3 separate regions of the Homo sapiens genome follow, and all the other regions are linked to region 3. Evidence: promoter capture Hi-C in human tissues and cell types (Jung and others, 2019). All regions are on one chromosome and are shown on one strand. The core of a region is centred on a gene start or on the middle of the fragment in contact, and the rest is flanking DNA. Distances in the headings are between cores, read along the strand shown. Region 1 overlaps TAB1 (TGF-beta activated kinase 1 (MAP3K7) binding protein 1). Region 2 has its middle 28 kb from the start of SNORD83B. Region 3 holds the start of APOBEC3C (apolipoprotein B mRNA editing enzyme catalytic subunit 3C).

What was found. Contacts are between HindIII fragments. The study calls those that stand out against the background at their distance.
Region 1: a contact is called between a fragment that was not itself captured here and the fragment with the promoter of APOBEC3C in region 3, in 2 of the 25 tissues and cell types used here (adrenal gland and dorsolateral prefrontal cortex).
Region 2: a contact is called between a fragment that was not itself captured here and the fragment with the promoter of APOBEC3C in region 3, in 2 of the 25 tissues and cell types used here (dorsolateral prefrontal cortex and spleen).

The regions. Positions count from the first base shown.
Region 1 is chr22:39,404,369-39,408,421 of GRCh38, reverse strand. The region is part of intron 1 of TAB1 (TGF-beta activated kinase 1 (MAP3K7) binding protein 1); the gene reads right to left. Among named protein-coding and RNA genes, the nearest start is that of TAB1, 6.6 kb to the right of the region's middle. The HindIII fragment of the contact is 6,290 bases long and covers 1-4,053 here.
Region 2 is chr22:39,284,510-39,288,211 of GRCh38, reverse strand. No RefSeq gene overlaps it. Among named protein-coding and RNA genes, the nearest start is that of SNORD83B, 28 kb to the left of the region's middle. The HindIII fragment of the contact is 9,215 bases long and covers 1-3,702 here.
Region 3 is chr22:39,012,885-39,016,541 of GRCh38, reverse strand. APOBEC3C (apolipoprotein B mRNA editing enzyme catalytic subunit 3C) reads right to left here and starts at 2,285. Exons shown (of 4, transcript NM_014508.3): 1 at 2,163-2,285; 2 at 791-947. The coding sequence starts at 2,179. RefSeq lists a silencer at 1,995-2,044 and enhancers at 2,155-2,264, 1,837-2,454, 2,184-2,478, 2,455-3,073. The HindIII fragment of the contact is 14,453 bases long and covers 1-3,657 here.

The DNA.
Region 1 (4,053 bases), core at 965-3,464, 390 kb before region 3:
GTTGGTGTGTCATGGCACAAGAACAATTCATCTGAGAGCGTTTCACAACAGGAGACCAGGAGTAAGCTGATGATCTACTGACCACTGTATGCTGTGCTGTATTTGGCTGATGTGGGAATAACTAACTTTCCCAAATGAGAAAAACTGTGTGTCTGACGGCAATCAATCTACTGAGCACGTGCCTTGTTCATTAAGTACCCGTGAATAGTGTCTAGATATTTCAACACTGCTAAGTACTTTTTTAGGAAATCTGATTTTCATAATGTTGAGGCAGTAATATTTCTGGAATTTATTATTTTATAAACTGGCAAATGGTGTTTGGGTCAGTAAGTATGGACACTAGTGCTATTGTTTATCTAAGGAGTCTTGGTCCATTCTTGGTAAAAACACTCCAGAAAACAGAAACTGATGGCTCCTTTCTGAACATGCTACTCTGTATACTTCAGCCCTAATGCTGGCAACTTACTCAGTGGGGAACACTTCATTAAGATCAGGGCCATAGGGCTGGGCATGGTGGCCCACATCTGTAATCCCAGCACCTTGGGAGGCTGAGGCGGGCAGATCACGAGGTCAAGAGATTGAGACCATCCTGGCTAACATGGTGAAAACCCGTCTCTACTAAAAATACAAAAAATTAGGCTGGGCACGGTGGCTCACACCTGCAATCTGAGCACTTTAGGAGGCCGAGACCGGCGAATCACGAGGTCAGGAGATCGAGACCATCCTGGCTAACACAGCAAAACCCCGTCTCTACTAAAAATACAAAAAATTAGCCGGGCGTGGTGGCAGACGCCTGTAGTCCCATCTACTATCGGGAAGCTGAGGAAGGAGAATCGCTGGAACCCGGGAGGCAGAGCGTGCAGTGAGCCGAGATCACGCCACTGCACTCCAGCCTGGGAGACAGAGTGAGGCTCCCTCTCAAAAAAAAAAAACAAAACAACAACAAATGATCAGGGCCATAGCAAGGCTGCCCACTCTATTACTTCACACAGAACTGGAGGTGTTAGCCCAGGCAGTTAGACAGAGTAAAGAATGAGAGCATAAAAACCGGGAAAGAAGTCATTTCTATTTGCAGTTGATAGGACAGTACGCCTGGCAACCCTAAAGAATCAATGAAAAACTAATGCAAACAGAAAAAGAAATCAGTTAGGCGGCAGGATAGAAAATCAAAGTATGCAAATCAACAGCTTTCATATACCCAAGAGAAGATGAGCATCTAGCCTCTATGTAATGTAAAATAACAAAGTCCTTTTCCTGTGAGTTTCTACCATGTCTGTCTCCCCCAGCCAAACTACTATAGAAGGTTGTTTTAAATCTAAATTTATATCAGTCGAATTACATCTTAATGCATTCATCCCAGCCTTCCAGACTGTCGAAAGTTTTGAATTTTGCCCTTTGACAGATTAACAATCTCACTCAGCTGTGTATCTTGTACAGACAAGGCCTTCTACTCACTGTTCCAAACAATCTCTAAAAAACTGTGACCAGAGGCCGGGCGCAGTGGCTCACGCCTGTAATCCCAGCACTTTGGGAGGCCAAGGCGGGCAGATCATGAGGTCAAGAGATTGAGACCATCCTGGCTAACACGGTGAAACCCCGTCTCTACTAAAAATACAAAAAAATTAGGTGGGCGTGGTGGTGGGTGCCTGTAGTCCCAGCTACTCCAGAGGCGGAGGCAGGAGAATGGTGTGAACCCGGGAGGCAGAGCTTGCAGTGAGCCGAGATGGCGCCACTGCACTCCAGCCTGGGCGACACAGCAAGACTCCGTCTCAAAAATAAAAAATAAATTAAAAAAAAATAAAGAAAGAGTAAGAAAAAAATTACCCAAAGAGCATATGTAAAAGTACCCATGGTAAGGCAAAGCCTGTCCCTTTCTGTCTTTTTAAGTCCTATCTACCCTAAAGGCACTGCTCAAATCCAACTAGGGCCAGAGGCCCATGATTCCCAAACCTCAATCATCCACTGACCATCTTCAAGAAACTATCTTTCACTCAAATGATTCCTTTTTTTTTTTTTTTTTTTTTGGTGACAGTCTCACTCTGTCGCCCAGGCTGGAGTGCAGTGGCGCGATCTTGGCTCACTGCAAGCTCTGCCCCTCCAGGTTTAAGCAATTCTCTGCCTCAGCCTCTGGAGTAGCTGGGATTACAGGTGCGTGCCACCATGCCCGGCTAATTTTTTGTATTTTTAGTAGAGACGTGGTTTCACCATCTTGGCCAGGCTGGTCTTGAACTCCTGACCTTGTGATCCACACGCCTTGGCCTCCCAAAGTGGCCCTGTGGCAACCATTGTGCTATAGCCTGGTATTGTTAATTAGATTACCTTATTTCACTGATTTGAAGACCTACATTTTCCACATGTTAACGTCTCTGGAGTTGGTATGTTACAAGTTAATTAGCTGTGAGTTCTCTTTCTGAGCAATAGACAAAACACTGACGTGTCCTTAAAACATTGGTGTCTTAGATCCAATGACACATGGGCAGTTTCTCACGTAATTCGGGCGCTCGCCAGACACTGGTTCACTACAGTGGCCGGAGAACCTCAGGAGGTTCTACCAAGTGGGAGTGAGAGTATCTGGTCTTCTCCGTGTTCCCCAGCGGACTCACGCTGCTGCAGCTGAGTAGGCTTGGATCGTGTTCTCCCGTCCCTTTCCATCTCCATCGAGGATTAGCCATACCGAGCGTCCATTGCTGATTCCATTAAAGCCTACAGGACTGCCAAGTCTCTCGCTTCCTTCCTCCACATTTCTGAACAATTTTCAGAAAGGTCATGTACTTTCTATTCACACAAACCACCCACCCCTCCACCCCTGCACACACTGATGCATACTTTCTCCCACGCCCCCAAATGCCAGGCCTGCCAGCACCAGCCGTGAGCGGCGCTGGAGCGCAGGGAGCAAGAGTCTGCGAGAAGCTGAGAAGGGGGCGTCTCTCACTCAGCACAGCCTCATCGCGGAGCCACTGCAACACACACAACAGCGAACGCAGGACTTAACTCTTCCATGTCTGAGAAATGAACTGCTCATGAGAAATTTCACAAGAATACGTTAAGAAGCCTGTTTCAAAAGACCTAATTTTGATTTGATTTTGTGAAGGAGTTTCCAAAATTAATGTTTCGGTATGAAAAGCTTCTACAGTGATCCAACAGTATTTAACCCAACAAGGCCTTTACAAACACCCTGTGCATGATGTAAGCATTCACTCCTCATGTATATATGTGTCCATGTCACATAATAGTTCACAAAGTACCCACACAGACTCATCTCAAAGTCCTGGGCAGCAGAAATGGACAAAGAATGGTTCCAAGCTCAGGCCACAGCTTGAATACCAAATTATGCTATGAAAAGGCCAAGTGTTTTTGTGGTAAAAGCACCCACATTCCTTAGAAGCAAAAAGGAAGCTCAGAAAGGGAGACTCACAACCCCAGGAAGAGGGCTCGGAGCAGGGGAGCAGCAGACCTTTCTCTCCAAAAAGCTTCCAAGGCCCCAATGCCCCCACCACCTCCAACCTTCCGGATGACCCACTTCTCTGAGACCAGCTCCACTCCTGGCCCCCACTTCTCCCACCGGAGTTTTCATTGAAGGTTCTCCATGTCGTCATCCTAAAGAGCTCCTCATTCATTCTTAAAGGGGCTAATAATCATTGTTGGCACTTCCAATGTGCTAGGGCAGCAGCTGGGTGTATGCAATGGGTATAGGTGGTACCCCCATGGACCTTTTTATTTTAGTGGCTATGTATTTATTTTAACATCCTTTAGATAAATTACACAGATAGCAGCACCTATGATCTCAGATATAATTGCTCAGGACATGTCGAAGTTTAAAAAATTGATTTTAAGCTTACTTTCTTTTTTTTTTTTTAAACAGGTCTTGCTGTGTCACCCAGCCTGGAGTGCAGTGAGGGGATCATAGCCTCACTACAACCTCAAACTTCTGGGCTCAGGCAATCACCCCATTAAGTCTCCTAAGTACTACAGGCACATACCACCATGCCTCACTAATTTTTTTAAAGACTGAATCTCACTATGTTGCCCGAGCTGATCTGGAACTCCTGGCCT
Region 2 (3,702 bases), core at 60-2,559, 270 kb before region 3:
CTACAAAAAATAAATTAAAGAAAATTAGCCGAGTGTGGTGGCGAATGTCTATAGTTTCAGCTACTCAGCAGGGCTGCGGTGGGAGGATCATTTGAACCCAGGAGGCCAAGGCTGCAGTGAGCCATGACTGTGCCACTGCACTCCAGCCTGGGTAACAGACACCCTGTCTCAAAAAAAAAAAAAAAAAAAATTAACCCATTTATGCCTTAAGTTGCAATTTTTAAAACTTTTGCAATCAGACCTTGGCAATGACCTTGAGAAGGAGGACAGAAATAATTCCCAATAATGGAACACTAGGCATAAATGAAATGATACACAAATAATACACAGGTCCAGAAACACACCCTCCTTGCAGCAGGACCAAATGATGGAGAAGACACATTGGCCTTCCACATTGTTGTGGGTTGAAAAGGATCTCCCCAAAATTCATGTCTATTCTGCACCTCAGAACGTGACCTTATTTGGAATAAGGATTTTTGCAGATGTAATTAGAGTATGGATCTCAGAATGAGGTCACCCTGGGTTGGGGTGGATCCTAAATCCAGTTAGAGTGTTCTTACAAGAGAAAGGGATGGGAGATTTGCAAACAGAGACTCAGGAGAGGAAAGGGCCCTGTGAAGTCAGAGGCAGGGATTGAACAGTGCGGTCACAGGCCAAGGAACCCGGGAGTCCCCAGAAGCTGAAAGATTGCCCCCTGGAGCTGTGGAGGCAGCATGGCCCTGTAGACACCTTGATTTTGGACTTCTAGCCTCCAGAGCTATGAGAATAAATGCCTGTTATTTCCACCACCAAGTGTATGGTAATTTATTACAGGAAACCAGTAGACACCTGCCCCACGGCCCTGCTCCGTCTGCAGCTCCTCCCTCCAGGGTTCCTCTCTGCTCTCCACACATGACTGTGGCATGCTGAATGCAGAAGTTTTGTTTTGAAATGTGGTGTTTTGAATGCAGAAGTTTTGTCTGTTGAATGCAGAAGTTTCATAGGCACATACCAGACGCGGTGTTCCGTAAACGTTCCATAAATTGCTCTGGCCATTGGTGCAGATGGGGGCAGCTCCCAGTTTTCCTTGGTTACACAAGAAGCCACTGTGAACACTTTTGCCTTGTCTCTTCTGCACATGCTTGATGACTTCTGGAGGCTGGAAGATTCCTTAGAAGGAGAATTGCTGGGTCAAAGGGTAAGCCCGTTTGCAATTTGACTGATGCTGTCAAATAGAGTCAAAACAGAAACTCAGAATCTTAAGAAGGAGAGAAGGTTTGGTGCAGTGGCTCATGCCTGTAATCCTTGCACTTCGGGAGGCCAAGGTGCAAGGATCGCTTGAGCCCAGGAGTTTAAGGCCAGTCTGGGCAACACAGGGAGACCTCGTCTCTATAAAAAATACAAAAGTTAGCCAGGTGTGGTGGCGCATGCCTGTAGTCCCAGCTACTTGGGAGGCCGAGGTGGGAAGATCACTTGAGCTCAGGAGTTCACAGCTGCAGTGAGCCATGGTTGCACCACTGCTATTCAGCCTTGGTGACACAGTGAGACCCTATCTCAAAATAAATAAATAAATAAGAAAAAGAGAAGCAGGGAAACAGACTTTTGGATTTTACAGCATGGGACACTTCCAACCCCAGAATTATAAAACTTCAGGAGAGGGGACCTCAGGAGAACATCTATTCTGGGGTCTCACTTCAGGACCCAGGAGTGACATCTTCCAAGCCCTGTCTGGGTTTCTGTTTCCCTGGAATGGGCTTGGAGAAAGCAGAGGAGATAGGACCCAGGAGCCTGGAACTCTGGGGCTCCAAGGGAGCTCTGGCAGGGGGTGAGTGAAATGCCTTCCCCACCTGGGCACCCAGCTCTTCTACCCAGAGGCTGCCCCTTTCCAGCCGAGGTGCCAGGCCAGCTGGGCCTCTGTAGCTGCACACAGTGGCCCCTCTGTGCTTGGCACACACACACAAAAATGTGAACAGAGCCTGTAATCCCAGCACTTTGGGAGGCCGAGGCAGGTGGATCCCTTGAGACCAGGAGTTCAAGACCAGCCTGGAGAACATGGTTAAACTCCGTCTCTACAAAAAATACGTGAAAAAAGAAATTAGCTGGGTGTGGTGGTGCATGTCTATGGTTCCAGCTACTGGGGAGGCTGAGGTAGGAGGATTGCTTGAGCTGGGGTGGTTGAGGCTGCCATGAGCCAAGATTGTGCCTCTGCCCTCCAGCTTGGGTGACAGAGTGAGACCATCTCAAAAAAAAAGAAAGAAGAAAGAAAGAAGAAGAAAGAAAGAGAGAGAGAGAAAAAAAGAAAGAAAGAAAGAAAAAAGGAAAGAAAAGGAAAAGAAAAGAAAAAAGCCAGGTACGGCAGCTCACGCCTGTAATTACAGCATTTTGGGAGGCCGAGGTGGGCAGATCACAAGGTCAGGAGTTCAAGACCAGCCTGGCCAACATAGTGAAATCCCATCTCTACTAAAAATACAAAAAAAAAAAAAAAAAAAAAAATTAGCCGGGTTTGGTGGTGGACACCTGTAATCCCAGCTACTGGGGAGGCTAAGGCAGGAGAATCACTTGAACCTGGAAGGCAGAGGTTGCAATGAGCCGAGATAGTGCCACTGCACTCCAGCTCGGACAACAGTGTGAGACTGTCTCAAAAAAAAAAAAAAAAAAAAAAAGAAAGAAAGAAAAAAATGTAAAGGAAATGAGCAGGGGTGGGTGGGGTGGTCTATGGTCTGCACTAGGCTGACTTGTGGCCCTGGCTGGAGTTCTGAGGTCTGGAACAGGGCAGGAGGCTCTGCATTAGATACTGGTCGCCTGCCTTGGAGTCCCCTCCATTCTTATTCTGGTGGTTTTAGAACATGCTCTTCCCCCAATTATTTGACACTCCTCTTCTTGAAAGATGGGAGTCTATGTCCTTTTTCCTTGAATCTGGGCTCCGTGGATGCTTGATCAATATGTTGCCAGTGAGGCTGTGTCAGTTTCTGGACCCAGGCCATAAAAAACTGCAACTTCTACTTCCCACCTCTTGGGACTCAGCCACCATGCTGTGAGGAAGCTCAACAGCCCCATGGAAAGGCCGGTGTGGGAAGGAACAGAGGACCCTCTACCCCTGCCAGCTGTCAGCCCCAGTAGAGCCAATGGGACCTCCAGCTCCCACTCAAGTTGCCCCAGCTGATGCCTCATAGAGCAGTGCTGTGCCTTCTTGCGGCATCTGGCTTGACTTGCAGATCTGTGAGAGAAACAAATGATTGCTCTTGTTTTAAGCCACTAAATTTTGGGATCATTTGCAGCATAGCAATGGATAACTGGAACACCCTCCATGACCAACAAAGTCGCCACCAGTGCCTGCAGGCTGGGTTAAGAACACGGGCTTTGGGATCAGACTCACCAGCCATATGTCAAGGCCCGTCTTTGCCTCAAGGGCTTCATCTGCACATGGTGACCGTAGTAGGACTCGCCTCATAAGGTTGTCATGAGGATGAAATGAGATGACACACATGGAGTCTGGTGCCGAGGAAGTGTGTGGTAAATAGGAGCGTGACAAGGGTTTACCGCCATGGTTGTTATTTCCCTAAGCAGAGAAAATTACTCAGTCTAGGCTGGGTTCATTCAAACAGGCATGTCCTTCCCTGCTTGCTCCTTCGAAGACCCCCTCCTCCAGGAAGCCTTCCCTGACCACCCTACACTGGGCCGCCACTCCTCTGTGCACCTCCAGCCCTCTGTGCTACACCTGAA
Region 3 (3,657 bases), core at 1,036-3,535:
GCCATGGACTTAAAAAATGTGGGGAGGCCGGGCACAGTGGCTCATGCCTGTAATCCCAGCACTTTGGGAGGCCAAGGCGGGCGGATCATGAGGTCAGGAGATCGAGACCATCTTGGCTAACACCATGAAACCCCGTCTCTACTAAAAAAAAAAAAAAAAAGAAAAAAAGAAAAAATTAGCTGGGCATGGTGGTGGGCGCCTGTAGTCCCAGCTACTTGGGAGGCTGAGGCAGGAGAATGGCGTGAACCCGGGAGGCGGAGCTTGCAGTGAGCTGAGATTGTGCCACTGCACTCCAGCCTGGGCGATAGAGCAAGACTCCGTCTCAAAATAAATAAATAAATAAATAAATAATGTGGGGAGGAGGCCAGGGGCATGGTGTCTCACGCATGTAATCCTAGCACTTTGGGAGGCCAAGGCTGGTGGATCACTTGAGGTCAGGAGTTCGAAACCAGCCTGGCCAACATGGCAAAATCCTGTTTCTACTAAAAATACAAAAGAATTGGCTGGGCATGGTGGCAGGTGCCTGTAATCCCAGCTACTCGGGAGACTGAGGCAGGAGAATCGCGTGAACCTGGAAAGCAGAGGTTGCCGTGAGCTGAAATCAGACCACTGCATTCCAGCCTGGGTGACAGAGCGAGACTCCATCTCAAAAAAAAAAAAAAAAAAATAGAAATGTGGCAGGAAAGTGCACACAGGAGAGCCCACGCCGGGCACATCACTTATTGTTGCGTTTTCTGCATTCCCAGCTGCTTAGCTCCTATTTAGGGTGTAACTAGGACTTTGGTGCTACCTGGTTTCGGAAGACGCCCGTCTTCCAGGAGACAACTGAGCGGCGCTTTATACCTTCCACGGTGAAGCACAGCCAAGTTTCGTTCCGATCGTTGGCTTCCCATAGGTTTTTAAATTGGAAGTAGAATGTGCCTGGATACATTGCCTTCATCGGGTTTCTGAAGGCACAAGAGAGAAACCCCAATGCAGAGACCCCCGCACCGGAGTCCTCAGGGCTGATGCCCACTGAACACAGCTGCCTGGACGTCCCTGGGCTCTGGGCCTCCCCCATCCCTCCACAGCCCTGAGAATGTCTGCTGCTTTCCCAGGCAGGAAGACGGGGAGAGAGAAAGAGGAGGGGACGCTGGCAGGGGCAGCAGGGCCGGGGTGACCTCTCCTAGCTGGAACCCCAGCTCTGGGGCTACCAATGGAACACCCTCAACCTCCCAGTTTTTCTGCTACTTTTTTTTTTTTTTTTTTAAAGACGGCATCTCGCTCTGTCCCCCAGGCTGGAGTTTGCAATCTCAGCTCACTGCAACCTCCACCCCTCGGGTTCAAGGGATTCTCCTGCCTCAGCCTCCCAAGTAGCTGGGATTACAGACGCCCGCCAGCACCCCTGGCTAATTTTCTGTATTTTCAGTAGAGACGAGGTTTCACCATGTTAGTCAGGCTGGTCTCAAACTCCTGACCACAAGTGACCCGCCCGCCTCAGCCTCCCAAAGTGCTAGGATTACAGGCATAAGCCACCGTGCCTGGCCTAAAATAAGAGCATTTCTCCTGATCATCATATTTTTTCCTACACTCCATGTTGCAGGTGTCATTCTGAAAGGTGAACGGTGCTCACAGAGGAGGAGCCTGTGTCTGGGGTCGTGTGCATCCTACTCTGCTCACAGTGGAGGCATCTTTGGAAGAAGTGACTTATTTTCTGGTACAGAGACCATTCCCTCCCCCACACCCTCTCCTAAGACTTTGTATTGAAACAAAGTAAATCTTACAGAAATTGCACCAAAGCGCTGAGAACAAAATGCCTGATTGCTCAAATCATCCTTTGGTTCAATTCTCCCAGTTCCAGAGCTCCCAGGAATAGTGGGAAGCACACAGAGGAAGCACCCTCCCAGGGCGGGAAGCACCAGCCCGGGCATGATTTTCGGGGGAGAGTCTCAGCAGGCGGACTGGGCTGGGGCAAGTGGGGAAGGTGGCCCATTCAGAAGCAGCAGTCGTGGGACCACACAGCAGGGCAAGGAGCTTGGCTGGGAGTGGGGGCAGCGGGGGAACCAGGGGGGAGGGAGCCCAGAGGTGGGGCTGGGGCAGGGGGAGGCCAGGGCTGAGGCCCAGCAGGACCGCCTGGCAGGAAGTGGCAGGAGGGGCCTGGCGGACAAAGCGTGCAGAGGTACCTGATCTGTGGATTCATGTTCAGCCTCTTAGATATGCTTGTCCCTGTCCCACTCTTTTCTGAAGCGCTGTGGCTTCTCTTCCTGCTTACAGCGTCCTTGCAGTTGAGCAGCCCTCTTTAAAGTGACCTCCCAGGGCCTTGTGAATCATGGCCCCTCCCCATTCCTGCTCAGGCACTGGTGTGGGAGGCCCCGGGGTGCTTCATGTTTCTCTGGCTCTGGCCCTCTTTCTGGTTTTCTCCGGGCCCCTCCTACTGGCAGAGGAACCTCCGATAAAGACAGGCTGCTCTGTCTTTATCTGTCCTGGGCAGGACCCAACGGAACTGCAAAAAGAAGAGAAAGAGAAAGAGAAAGGCATTGCAGCCTGAGCCTGGGACGCGGGTCCAGACCCAGCTGAGAGAGGGGCAGGTGCCCCGTTGCCTGGTGGTTGGGCAGGCTGGAGCCCCCTCTCCACCACCCCCTCCCCAGCCCTAATGTGTGCCCAGAGCTTTGAGCAGCACCACCCTGTTGAGTGAGGGGAGGTTTTGAGACCCCAGTGGGGAAGGAAGTGTGGACTCCGCACAGCACAAGCGAAGGCTTAGGTGTGCCTCGAGTTCCCAGCTGTGTGCTGAGTCCATCGCACGCATCCCCTCTTCCAACCTCCCAGCTTCCAGAAGGTGGGGGGCAGTTCAGCCCCTCAGAGATGTGGGCGGAGGATTACCTAGGTGCTGAGGCAAGAGACTGAAGGCACAAACTGTTTCAGTATAATAAAGAATATACTTACAATAAGAATAGTTATAATACAAATTAGATACAGAGATGATCATGGACATTATCAATCATTAGTGTAGATATTATTAATCATTAGCTTTTAATATTACTCTTTATTGTATTACTAATATAACCAAGAAATAACCGGTGGGTATAGGGTCAGGTGCTGAAGGGCTGTTGTGAGAAGTGACCGAGAATGCAAGAGGTGAGCCCTCTGTCACACCCGCATAAGGGCTACTGGAGGGCTCCTTGGTCAGGCGGTAACGCCAGTGCCTAGGAAGGCATCGTTACTTAGCGGACCACGAAAGGGAGTCTCCCTTTTCTTGGAGGAGTCAGGGAACGCTCAGCTCCACCAGCTTCTTGTGGGAGGCTGGATAGTATCCAGGCCTGCCTGCAGCCATCCGGAGGCCTAAACCCCTCCCTGTGATGCTGTGCTTCAATGGTCACGCTCCTTGTCCACTTTCCTCCTGTACTCCTGGTCCCTCTTTGAAGTTCTCAGAAGATAGCGGTAGAAGAAATAGTGAAAGTCTTAAAGTCTTTGATCTTTCTGATAGGTGCATAGAAGAAAACGCTGACGTATACTGCCTTCCCTCTCTGCTTCGGCTACCTATAAGGGAAGGGCCCCCTGTCCTATGATCACGTGACTTGCTCGACCTTATCAATCACTTGGACGACTCACCCTCCTTACCCTGCCCCCCTTGTCTTGTATGCAATAAATAACAGTGCACGCAACCATTTGGGGCCACTA